Linked DNA regions of Homo sapiens: regions 2 and 3 are each linked to region 1. The links are contacts of gene promoters, found by promoter capture Hi-C in human tissues and cell types (Jung and others, 2019). All regions are on one chromosome and are shown on one strand. Each heading gives the region's core, a stretch centred on a gene start or on the middle of the fragment in contact. The rest is flanking DNA. Distances are from core to core; before and after follow the strand shown. Region 1 holds the start of SLC39A6 (solute carrier family 39 member 6). Region 2 overlaps LOC105372063 (a long non-coding RNA gene). Region 3 has its middle 43 kb from the start of ZNF396.

Region 1 (3,668 bases), core at 1-2,500:
TCCCCTATGACCTTTCCCCCAAACTGACACTTTCTCTAAAATGTCCATTCCCGTAGCTAAAACACAGGTAACATTTCCTTGAAATTCAATACAACAAAAGTTCATTAACCAAAACTGAAGGAAATACTGAAATGAGATTGCACCTGTGGGATGATGGTTTTAATCTACATATAAATTTCAATTGTTTTAAAACCCAAATTGATTAACGGTACTACAGTTCCCAAGGAAGGCTTCAGGTAAGATGCTTATCATTCGGGTTTCTGCGTGGGACTAACAGGTTACTAGCAGCTCATGGGCAGCAATGACCCTAGGATGACGCCACGCGTGAGACGGCAAAGGGTGAGGGGTGAGGAGCGAGTCCGGCAGGTCCACTGGAGACTCCGAGCCCAAACCCCGCTCCCCTGAGCCGACCCGACTCGCCTCCTAGGTCTGGGGCGGCAACTAACAGCGCGCCCGGAGCACGTCCACAGGTTCAACCCGAAAAGCACAAGGGTCGGCCGTCCAGCGACCTCTCTTACCAGGGGGTCATAGAGCACCACGGAGCAGGACGTGCCAAAGGCCAGAAGTCCTCTGGGCCCAGAGCTCCAGTTCAGGACTCCCCGCACCCGGTTTGGGCAGCAAAACACGTGAGAAGTCTCCAGCACGGGTGCCACCATGTCGCCAACTGGTCAGCCGCACAAACAAGAGACGCGCACTTCCGCCCTCGGAGCGGAACTACTAGGGTGGTTTCTCCTGAGGCATCACCCAGTCCACGTTTCGCAGCCAGCCGAGGGCCAGACGGAGGCAGCCCCGCCCCCCTGAGACTCTCCGTTCCCACCGCAGGCTGGAACCCCTGTGCAAGGCCGCCGCTTTGCTAGCTCTGCTCTTGGACCGTGGCCCCGCTCCGCGAACGAGCCAGGCCTTTGTCTCAAGAGCGAAATCCGACCCGAGTGGCTCGGGACCCTCCCGAAGGACCCGGGGCTCATGTGCCTGGGGCAGCGTCAGAAACATCTCGCTGCCCCTTACGACCCGGCTCCCAGCAGCAGCCAGGGCTGGCCCCGGGGGCGCTGGCTAGCGAGTAGGGCCTCGAGGAAATGACCCCCAACTGCTTACAATGCGCTAGGGCCGCGCCACGCCCCCGCGGCGTCGGCGAACACACGGAAAAGCGGATCCGTCTGCGGAGCCGGGTTCCGGGGTCGCACTGCGCATGCCCTGCAGTCCTGGGCGAAGGGGGCGGTGGTTCCCCGCGGCGCTGCGCGCGGCGGTAATTAGTGATTGTCTTCCAGCTTCGCGAAGGCTAGGGGCGCGGCTGCCGGGTGGCTGCGCGGCGCTGCCCCCGGACCGAGGGGCAGCCAACCCAATGAAACCACCGCGTGTTCGCGCCTGGTAGAGATTTCTCGAAGACACCAGTGGGCCCGTTCCGAGCCCTCTGGACCGCCCGTGTGGAACCAAACCTGCGCGCGTGGCCGGGCCGTGGGACAACGAGGCCGCGGAGACGTGAGTCTTTCAGGTCCGGGAGCAGGGCGGCTGGGAGGGGAGCTCCTCAGGCCAGACAGGCGTGGCGGGGTAGGGGTGGTTCTGCGGAGAACCGGATCCTGCGGACCGGGCAGGGGGGCTACAGAAAGAGGATGCTGGGGGGAGCCCGCCGCAGGCGCCCACTCACCCTAGAGAGCCGGACTTCTTAAGGTGCTCAGATGGGCTTCGGGGTGCAACGGAGGATTTTTTGAGGAAAAGATCCGTACTTTTCATCCCATATTCGAAGAAGGGACTGACGTGTTTAGAAATAAAAAGCTTTTAGAAGAGAGCTTTGTGCCCTCTTTTCCGTTTTCTGTACTCGCCTTTTTCTCTAAGGCCCTTCCCTTCTGCTTTCCTTTTTCCTCCAGCACACACCAACTTGCAGGAAAGGAGATCCTTCAACGGGTCCACGACCGCGCTCAGCATCCTCCCTGGAGAAAGGCTCGGAGCTGTCCCCTGTGCTAGTCCCCTCCCACCCCGCTCCTCGCCTCTCTCCTGGGAATGATTTCTAAATGTTTATCTTTTACCTAGTAAAAGAATTCCCGAAACTTCAAGCCCCAAAGATTCCTCTTTCAGGAGCCTCGTTCTACGCCGTACCTCCATTTCCCACTGTTCCCTGTATGATACCTCGCACTTGTGCAACACATGAGTTTAACGAGTACTTGTAATATACATTCCTTCATGTGTTTTCCTCCTTCGCCTTGCAAAATAGGTTTTACCGGTATTTTAGATAAGGTAATGAATGCGAGAGCCCTGTCCAAAGAACAGCTGACCGTGGTAGAGCTGGATAGCCCCATGCTCTTGCTTAGTTGTAAACTTGACGTCTGCGTCTTTTGCTGGAGATGTGAGTTTGACCACCATCACCTCCACCGTTGGTGCTGGACATCCTGCTGGATCTGAATTAACTGAATTCTGGCTCTGCTTAACTGAATTCTGCTTTTCAAGCTCCAACTCAATTGCTTCCTCCTCTTTGGGGCACAGGCCTTTGGTTCCAAACACTACTGTGGATGATTAACAGCCTGTGATTAAATGTTGACTGGTTTGTAGTAACACAAGGATGCTACAGTGAGTTTTTCATGAAGTTCAGTTTACTTTAAGAATTCTATGTATGGACATAATGTGTCTGATTCATTGTCAAGTCGGAAAAAAGATTCAATGTGTATTTAAAGTATACACTTATTTGAGGCTGGGCGTAGTGGTCACGCCTGTAATCCCAGCACTTTGGGAATTGGAGGTGGAGGATCTCTTGAGGCCAGGAGTTCAAGACCAACCCGGACAACATAGTGAGACCTCGTCTCTAGAAAAAAAAAAAAAAAACTTTAAAAAAAAAATTAAGTATACATGTATTTGAGTATGCATAGAAAATATCCTGAGGGATACACTGGCAAAATTGAGCACCTTTGAGGATTGTGATTGGGGAAAGGGGTCTTAAATGGGCTTGTATGTAAGGAGAGTGTATTAGTTTAAAATTTTTTAAATATGTGAATTCTGAGATTATTATTTCTATTTTTTGGTGTTTGAAGGTTATTTTATGAAATGATGGTGATGATCAAGGTAGCTAGATTTCATTTCGTTCTTTTTTTTTTTTGAGACAGGGTTTCACAATGTTGCCCAGGCTGGTCACAAACTCCTGGCCTCAGGTGATCTGCCTGCCTCAGCCTCCCAAAGTGCTGGGATTATAGGCATGAGCCACCACACCCAGCCTAGATTTAATTATGAATCATTGGCCTCAATGATTCAAATAATCGTTCAAATAAATTCTCAACTTCAGTAAGCAGTTGATGGCTGTGGCCACATGGATCTCCCTTGTCTCTGAATTACTATTGCTTTTACAGTGCTAATGGCAGTCTCTTAGCACTCAGCTCTTCTCCAGTTGTTTCATGTGTTTTAGGAATGCAAGGGTAGAGCCTAGGACTCTAGTTCTTTCCATCTTCACAGTACCTAGCGTCACACTGGTCACACCACATGATGCTCTGGCAACTTTGATTATTTGATTACACATTAATTTTCAGTATGAGGTTTCTTAATTCAATTTGTTTTAGAAGTGAGTCAAGAATTTTTTTTTCCTGTCTTTTCTAGGAAGGCGCAATGGCGAGGAAGTTATCTGTAATCTTGATCCTGACCTTTGCCCTCTCTGTCACAAATCCCCTTCATGAACTAAAAGCAGCTGCTTT
Region 2 (3,668 bases), core at 828-3,327, 730 kb after region 1:
CTTTTGGCTATTGTGAATAATGCTGGCTATTGTGAATAATGCTGCTACTAACATGGGTGTCCAGATATTTCTTCAAGATCCTGCTTTCAATTCTTTTGGGTATATACCCAGAAGTGGAATTGCTGGATCATATGGTAATTTTATTTTTAGTTTTTTGAGGAACCACTGTTTTCCATAGCAGTTGCACCATTTTACTTTTCTATCAATAATGCACAAGAGTTCCAGTTTCTCCACATTTTTGCCAACGCTTGTTATTTTCCAGTTGTTTGCTTTGGTTTTTTGCTAGTAGCCATCCTAATGCATGTGAGGTGGTATCTTGTGGTTTTGATTTTCATTTCCCTAATTAATGGTGTTTAGCATTTTTTCAGGTGTTTGTTAGACCATTTGTATATCTTCCTTGGAGAAATATCTACTCAAGACCTTTGCCCATATTTTAATTGGTTGTTTGTTGTTGTTGCATTGCAGTTCTTTATGTATTCTGGATATTAAACCCTGTCTGAAATGATTTGCAAATATTTTCTCAAGTTCTATAGGTTGCCTTCTCACTCTGTTGATTGTATCCTTTGATGCACAGGAGTTTTAAAGTTTGATGTAGTCCAGTTTATCTATTTTGGCTTTGTTGCCTGTGCTTTTGGTTTCATATTGAATAAATCATTGCCAAATCCAATGTCTTGAATATTTTCCCCTGTTTTATTCTGAGAGTTTTATAGCTTTAGCTATTGCATTTAGGTCTTTAATTCATTTTAAGTTAATTTTTGTATGATGTGTAAGGGTCCAACTTTATTCTTTTGCATATGGATATCCAATCTTCCCAGCACTATTTGTTGAAAAGACTTTCCCCACTGGATGGTCTCAGCATCCTTGTTAAAAAGCATTTGACTATGTGTGGGGTAGTTTGTTTCTGAGCTCTCTATTCTATTCCTTTGGTCTGTAGGTCTGTCTTTACACCAGTACCATACTGTTCTGATTACCGTATTTTTGGAATAAGTTTTGAATTTAGGAAGTATGAGACCTCCAAATTTGTTCTGTTTCAAGATTGTTCTCATTATTTGGGAGTGCTTCAGATTCCCTCAATTATATTTCAAAACTTTTTGCTTAGAAGTCATGCCTATATGTCAACCTACAGAATGGGAGAAAATTTTTGCAATCTACTCATCTGACAAAGGGCTAATATCCAGAATCTACAAAGAACTTAAACAAATTTACAAGAAAAAAACAAAAAACCCCATCAACAAGTGGGCGAAGGATATGAACAGACACTTCTCAAAAGAAGACATTTATGCAGCCAACAGACACATGAAAAAATGCTCATCATCACTGGCCATCAGAGAAATGCAAATCAAAACCACAATGAGATACCATCTCACACCAGTTAGAATGGCGATCATTCAAAAGTCAGGAAACAACAGGTGCTGGAGAGGATGTGGAGAAATAGGAACACTTTTACACTGTTGGTGGGATTGTAAACTAGTTCAACCATTGTGGAAGACAGTGTGGCAATTCCTCAAGGATCTAGAAATAGAAATACCATTTGACCCAGCCATCCCATTACTGGGTATATACCCAAAGGATTATAAATCATGCTGCTATAAAGACACATGCACACATATGTTTATTGCAGCACTATTCACAATAGCAAAGACTTGGAACCAACCCAAATGTCCATCAATGATAGACTGGATTAAGAAAATGTGGCACATATGGACCATGGAATACTATGCAACCATAAAAAAGGATGAGTTCATGTCCTTTGTAGGGACATGGATGAAGCTGGAAACCATCATTCTGAGCAAACTATCGCAAGGACAAAAAACCAAACACCGCATGTTGTCACTCATAGGTGGGAATTGAACAATGAGAACACATGGACACAGGAAGGGGAACATCACACACCAGGGCCTGTCATGGGGTGGAGGGATGGGGGAGGGATAGCATTAGGAGATATACGTAATGTAAATGACGAGTTAATTGGTGCAACACAACAACATGGCACATGTATACATAACAAACCTGCACATTGTGCACATGTACCCTAGAACTTAAAGTATAATAAAATAAATAAATAAAGAAGTCATGCCTATCTTTTGTTACATGCTTTAGGTGTTTAATTTCTAATGACTATTTAAAGGAAATTTTTTTTACTTCCCAACCTGTTGCTGAAATGTAAAAATGCAGTTGCTTGTTGTATATTGAACTTGTTAAAGCTCTTAATTTATCTATAGGTTATCTACAAATATTACCATGTCTTATTAAAAAATCCTTTTTTTTTTTTTTTTGAGAGAGAGTTTTGCTCTAGTTGCCCAGGCTGGAGTGCAGTGGCATGATCTCAGTTCACTGCAACCTTTGCCTCCTAGGTTCAAGCAATTCTCATGCCTCAGCCTCTTGAGTAGCTGGGACTACAGGCACCCGCCACCACATCTGGCTAATTTTTTGTATTTTTAGTAGAGACTGGGTTTCACCATGTTGGCCAGGCTAGTCTCGAACTCCTGACCTCAGGTGATCCACCTGCCTCCCAAAGTGCAGGGATTACAGGCATGAGCCTCCACACCCAGCCAAAAGTCCTCCTTTCTAATCCTTAGCTTTTAAATTTTTTCCTTGCCTTTGTCTCTGCCAGGATCTCTAAGACAATGTTGAGTATAGGTAGTAACAGTGGAATCCTTGTCTTGTTTCTCAGATCCTTGTCTTGTTTCCCATGTCTAGAAGAAAGCTTGATCATCTCATTATTAAAGGTAATGTTTGCTGTGGGTCTTTTGTGAATACTCTTTATTGTATTAAGGATTTTTCCTTCTATTTCTAGTTTGCTAAGAGGTTGGTTTTTTCTTTTCAACATAGATAGAGATTTGATTTTATTAAATGCCTTTTCTGTATCTATTAAATCATATGATTTTTCTTCTTTGTTTTGTTAATATAGTGGATTGCATTTAATAATTTTCCAATAGTATTAAGTAAACCTTGCATTCCTGGAATGAACCCATTTCATCATGTTGTATGTATTGCTGAGGGATTTTGCTAATATTTTATTTAGATTTTTGTAACTGTATTCATTAGTGAAATTACCTTGCCATTTTTTTCTTTTTTTTGTAATGTTTTTATTAGCTTTTGGCATTTCAGGGTTATCCTGGCCTTATAAAATAAGAATGAGAATATTTTCTATTTTTCTAACATCTGTAAGAATGTTTGAGGTTGGCACTATTTCCTCTTTAAATGTTCGGGAAGATTTCATTAGTGAAACTATCTAGGCTTGTAGTTTTTGTGGGGTGGGGGGATGATTTAAAATTATAGATTCAATTTCCTTAGCAGTATTGGGCATTTAATGTTTCCTATTTCTACTTCTATCAGTAAATTGGAAAATTGTATTTTCAAGGAATTTCAAATGAATATTTCTAAATTTCAAATTGTTATTCTTTTAATCTCTGCCAATCTGTAACCATGTCTCCATTCTCATTTCTAATGCCAGTTATTCATAGGGCTATCATACATCTCGATTTGCCTGAAATGGACCTGATGTGTATGGGACAGTCCCAGTTTATATCTATTTTCCTGGCATCCTATTTAGTTTAGCATTTTTCCCTAGAGAAACAAAATTTAACTATCATCAATAGTTGAATTTAAATAAGCCATAATGGTTTTGGTCAATTTTCACTTTGGAATTCATTCAGGCTTCAGCC
Region 3 (3,668 bases), core at 797-3,296, 710 kb after region 1:
CCATTCTGGGGTACTTGCTGTCAATGCACCTGCCCTCACAGTCTGGGACACTGCCAAGCCCCACCATCCCAAGGTCTATAGTTACTACTACATGGTGCCTTATCTCGTGGCACTCACGGCACTCAAGTTGTTACTGAGCCCTATTGGCTCAGGTTCCTGAATTGCAGCCATACCCTTCTCCCCAGGCCCAAACCTCCAGAGCATCCCTTACTCCCTGGAGTTGGGCCAATGCTGTGCTCTGACCCCCAGGGATATAATCATAGCTACAACCCAGCCCTCTGGGCCTGAGCTGCTAGAAGTTACCTCAAGGTGACAGATTCTATCTCTGTGAGCAAGCTACAACCAACCCCACCACAGAGAGCAAACCAGTACCCCAACACCCAGGTGCCAAAATAGGTTCACAAGACACTAAGCCTAGGACTCCAGACTCACAACTACTGCAAGCACCTGCACCTGGAACCCAGTGTCATTGCAGCTGCTTGTAGGCTGTATCAGACCTGACACTAAGAGATTTCCTTGGCTAAATCCCCCCCATTGTGTGGAAAATGAGAATATAAGGACCCCCAGATCTCATGAGAACTCACTCACTATCATGAGAACAGCAAGGATGAAGTCCACTCTCATGATCCAATCACCTCCCACCAGGCTCCTCCTCCAATACTGGGGATTACAATTCAACATGAGATTTAGGCAGGAACACACATTGAAACTATATCACAATGCATCTCAAGGAACTAGAAAAGCAAAAGCAAACCAAACTCAAAATTTGTGGAAGGTAAGAAATAATAAAGAACAGAGCATAAATAAATAAAATTGAGACATAAAAAGATATAAAATATCAATGAAACAAGAAGTTGGCTTTTTAAAAAGATGAACAAAATCAGCAAACCATTATGTAGACTGACCAAGAAAAAAGAAGATCTAAATAAATAAAACAGAAATGAAAACGAGGTATTGCAACTAATATCACAGAAATACAAAGAATTATTTGTCTATTACATTACAAACAACTATATGCCAACAAATCAGAAAACTGAATGGAAATAGATAAATTCCTGGACATATACAACCTATCAAGATAGAAATAATAAGAAACAGAAAACCTGAACAGACCCCTTATGAGTTATGAGCTTAAATCTGTAATAAAAAGCCTCCCATCAAAGAAAAGCCGAGGCCCCAATGGCTTCACTGAGTTATTCGCCCAAACATTTAAAGAGCCAATAACAATATGTCTCAAGCTATTCCCAAAAAGTAAAGAAGATTCAAGCTCATTCTTCCTGGTTAAAAGGAAAATTAAAAGTAAAGAGGAGGAACTACTTCCAAACTCATTCTATGAGGTCAACATTCCGCTGATACCAAAACCAAAAATACAACAAAAAAAGAAAACTATACACCAATGTCTCTGATGGACCAGTATGCAAAAATCTCGGATGAAATACTAGCAAACTGAATCCAGCAGCACATTAAAAAGATTATTCACCATGATCAAGGGGGATTTATCCCAGGGATACAAAGATGGTTCAAATCAATAAATGTGACACATCATATCAGCAGAAAGAACAAAAACCATATAATCATCTCAATAGCACAGAAAAAGCATTAGACAAAATCCAACATCAATTTTTGTGGGTTTTTTTTTTTTTGAGATGGGTTTACACTTTGTTGCCCAGGCTTGAGTGCAGTGGTGTGATCTTGGGTCTTGGCACAATCTCCACCTCCCAGGCTCAGGTGGGTCTCCCACCTCAGTCTTCTAGGTAGCTGGGACCACAGGCACATACCACCTTGCCTGGCTAATTTTTGTATTTTTGGTAAAAACAGGGTTTTGTCATGTTGCTCAGGCTGGTCTCAAACTTCTGAACTCAAGCTATCTGCCCACCTGAGCCTCCCAGTGCTGAGATTGCAGGTGTGAGCTACTGTGCCCAGCTGATTCTTGTGGGCTTTTTTGTTTGTTTTTTTGTGAAAAAAAATCCAAATCTTAGCAAACTAGGAATATGAGGGAAATTCTTCAACCTGATAAAGGCCATCTATGAAAGACTTAGAGTTAACATTATACTTAATGGTGAAAGACTGAAGGCTTTCCCCTAATATTAGGAACAGGACAAGGACAACATTTAACATTGCACAGGAGATTATGGCCAGTGCAATAAGAAAGAAAAGTAAGAAACGGAAACAAAAATAAATTCCTTTTTTATATACTAGGAATGAACAATCATATATTGATATTAAAATACAATGTTTCCAAAAAATGAAAAGCTTGGGATACATCTGACAAAAGATGTGAAAGAGCTCTACACTGAAAAATATAAAACAATGCTGAGATAAATAAAAGAAAATCTAAATAAAAGGAGATTATATTTTGTTCGGTGGTAAGAAAACACAACATATAGTTGTGATGTCAATTCTCCCTAAATTAATCTATATATTCAATTCAATCTCAAAATCCAGTATTATTCATATAGAAATTGATATTTTGATTCTAAAATTCACATAGAAATGCAAAAACCTGAAATATTCAAACAACTTTGAAAAATAAGAGAAAAATTGCGGTTAACTCTACCAGACTTCAAGACACTGTAATGCTGTGATAGTCAAAACAGTGTTGTATTGGCATAGCAATAAACAATCAGATAAATGGAACAGAATACAGAGTCCAGATATAGACCCAAACATACATTGACAAAGGATTTTTGACAAAGGTACAGGGAAATCCAGTAGAGAAAAAGTATCTTAGTTCATTCAGGCAGCTATAACAAAAATACCTTAGACTGAGTAATTTATACATAATAGAAATGTATTGCTCACAGTTCTGGAGGCTGGGAAGTCCAAAATCAATGCACTATCAGATTTAGTGTCTGGTGAGGGAATGATCTCTTTTTCCAAGGTGGCACCTTGTTACTGCATCCTCACATGGCAGGTCAAGGCTGTTCCCTTCAACCTCTTTTATAAGGGCAGTAATCCCATTCATGGCATCTCTGCCTCATGACTTAATCACTTCCTAAAAGTCCCACCTCTCAATACTGTCAGATTTGTGATTAAATTTCAACATCTGAATTTTGGGAGGACACATCCAGATCATTGCAGATAGCCTTTTTAACAAATGATGCTGGAACAATTGCATATCCACATGAAAACAAATGAACTATTCATACTTCACACTATATATAAATATTAACACAAAATGGATCTATATTAGTCCATTCTTACACTGCTATAAAGAACTGCCCTGGACTGGGTAATTTATAAAGAAAAGAGGTTTAACTGACTCACAGTTCCATATGGCTGGGGCCTCAGGAAACTTAAAATCATGGTGGAAAGGGAAGCAGGCATGTCTTACACGGTTGCAGGCGAGAGAGAGAATGTGTGAGAGTGCAGGAAAAACTACCATTTATAGCCATTTATAAAACAATCAGATGTCATGAGAATTCACTCACTATTACGAGAACAGCATGGGGGAAATGGCCTTCATAATCCAGTCACTTCCCTCTCTCAACACATGGGGATTAAAATTCGAGATGAGATTTGGGTGAGGACACACAGCTAAACCATATCAGGGTCATTGACTGTGGTAAGAAGAATTACGTCCACCAAAAAGTTTCTATACCCTGATCCCCAAGACTGAATATGTTACATAGCAAAAATGACTTTGCAGAGGTAATTAAGGTTACTAA

The links. Contacts are between HindIII fragments. The study calls those that stand out against the background at their distance.
Region 2: a fragment that was not itself captured here is called in contact with the fragment with the promoter of SLC39A6 in region 1 in 1 of the 25 tissues and cell types used here (lymphoblastoid cells).
Region 3: a contact is called between a fragment that was not itself captured here and the fragment with the promoter of SLC39A6 in region 1, in 1 of the 25 tissues and cell types used here (lymphoblastoid cells).

The regions. Positions count from the first base shown.
Region 1 is chr18:36,126,922-36,130,589 of GRCh38, reverse strand. It overlaps SLC39A6 (solute carrier family 39 member 6), which reads left to right and starts at 1,250. Exons shown (of 10, transcript NM_012319.4): 1 at 1,250-1,476; 2 at 3,574-3,668. The coding sequence starts at 3,583. ELP2 (elongator acetyltransferase complex subunit 2) reads right to left here and starts at 691. Exons shown (of 22, transcript NM_018255.4): 1 at 519-691. The coding sequence starts at 656. RefSeq lists enhancers at 440-649, 441-946, 810-999, 1,030-1,324, 947-1,452. The HindIII fragment of the contact is 7,969 bases long and covers 1-3,668 here.
Region 2 is chr18:35,402,398-35,406,065 of GRCh38, reverse strand. It overlaps LOC105372063 (a long non-coding RNA gene), which reads left to right. Exons shown (of 3, transcript XR_935376.3): 2 at 2,675-2,729. Among named protein-coding and RNA genes, the nearest start is that of ZNF396, 27 kb to the right of the region's middle. The HindIII fragment of the contact is 4,091 bases long and covers 32-3,668 here.
Region 3 is chr18:35,418,863-35,422,530 of GRCh38, reverse strand. No RefSeq gene overlaps it. Among named protein-coding and RNA genes, the nearest start is that of ZNF396, 43 kb to the right of the region's middle. The HindIII fragment of the contact is 6,427 bases long and covers 1-3,668 here.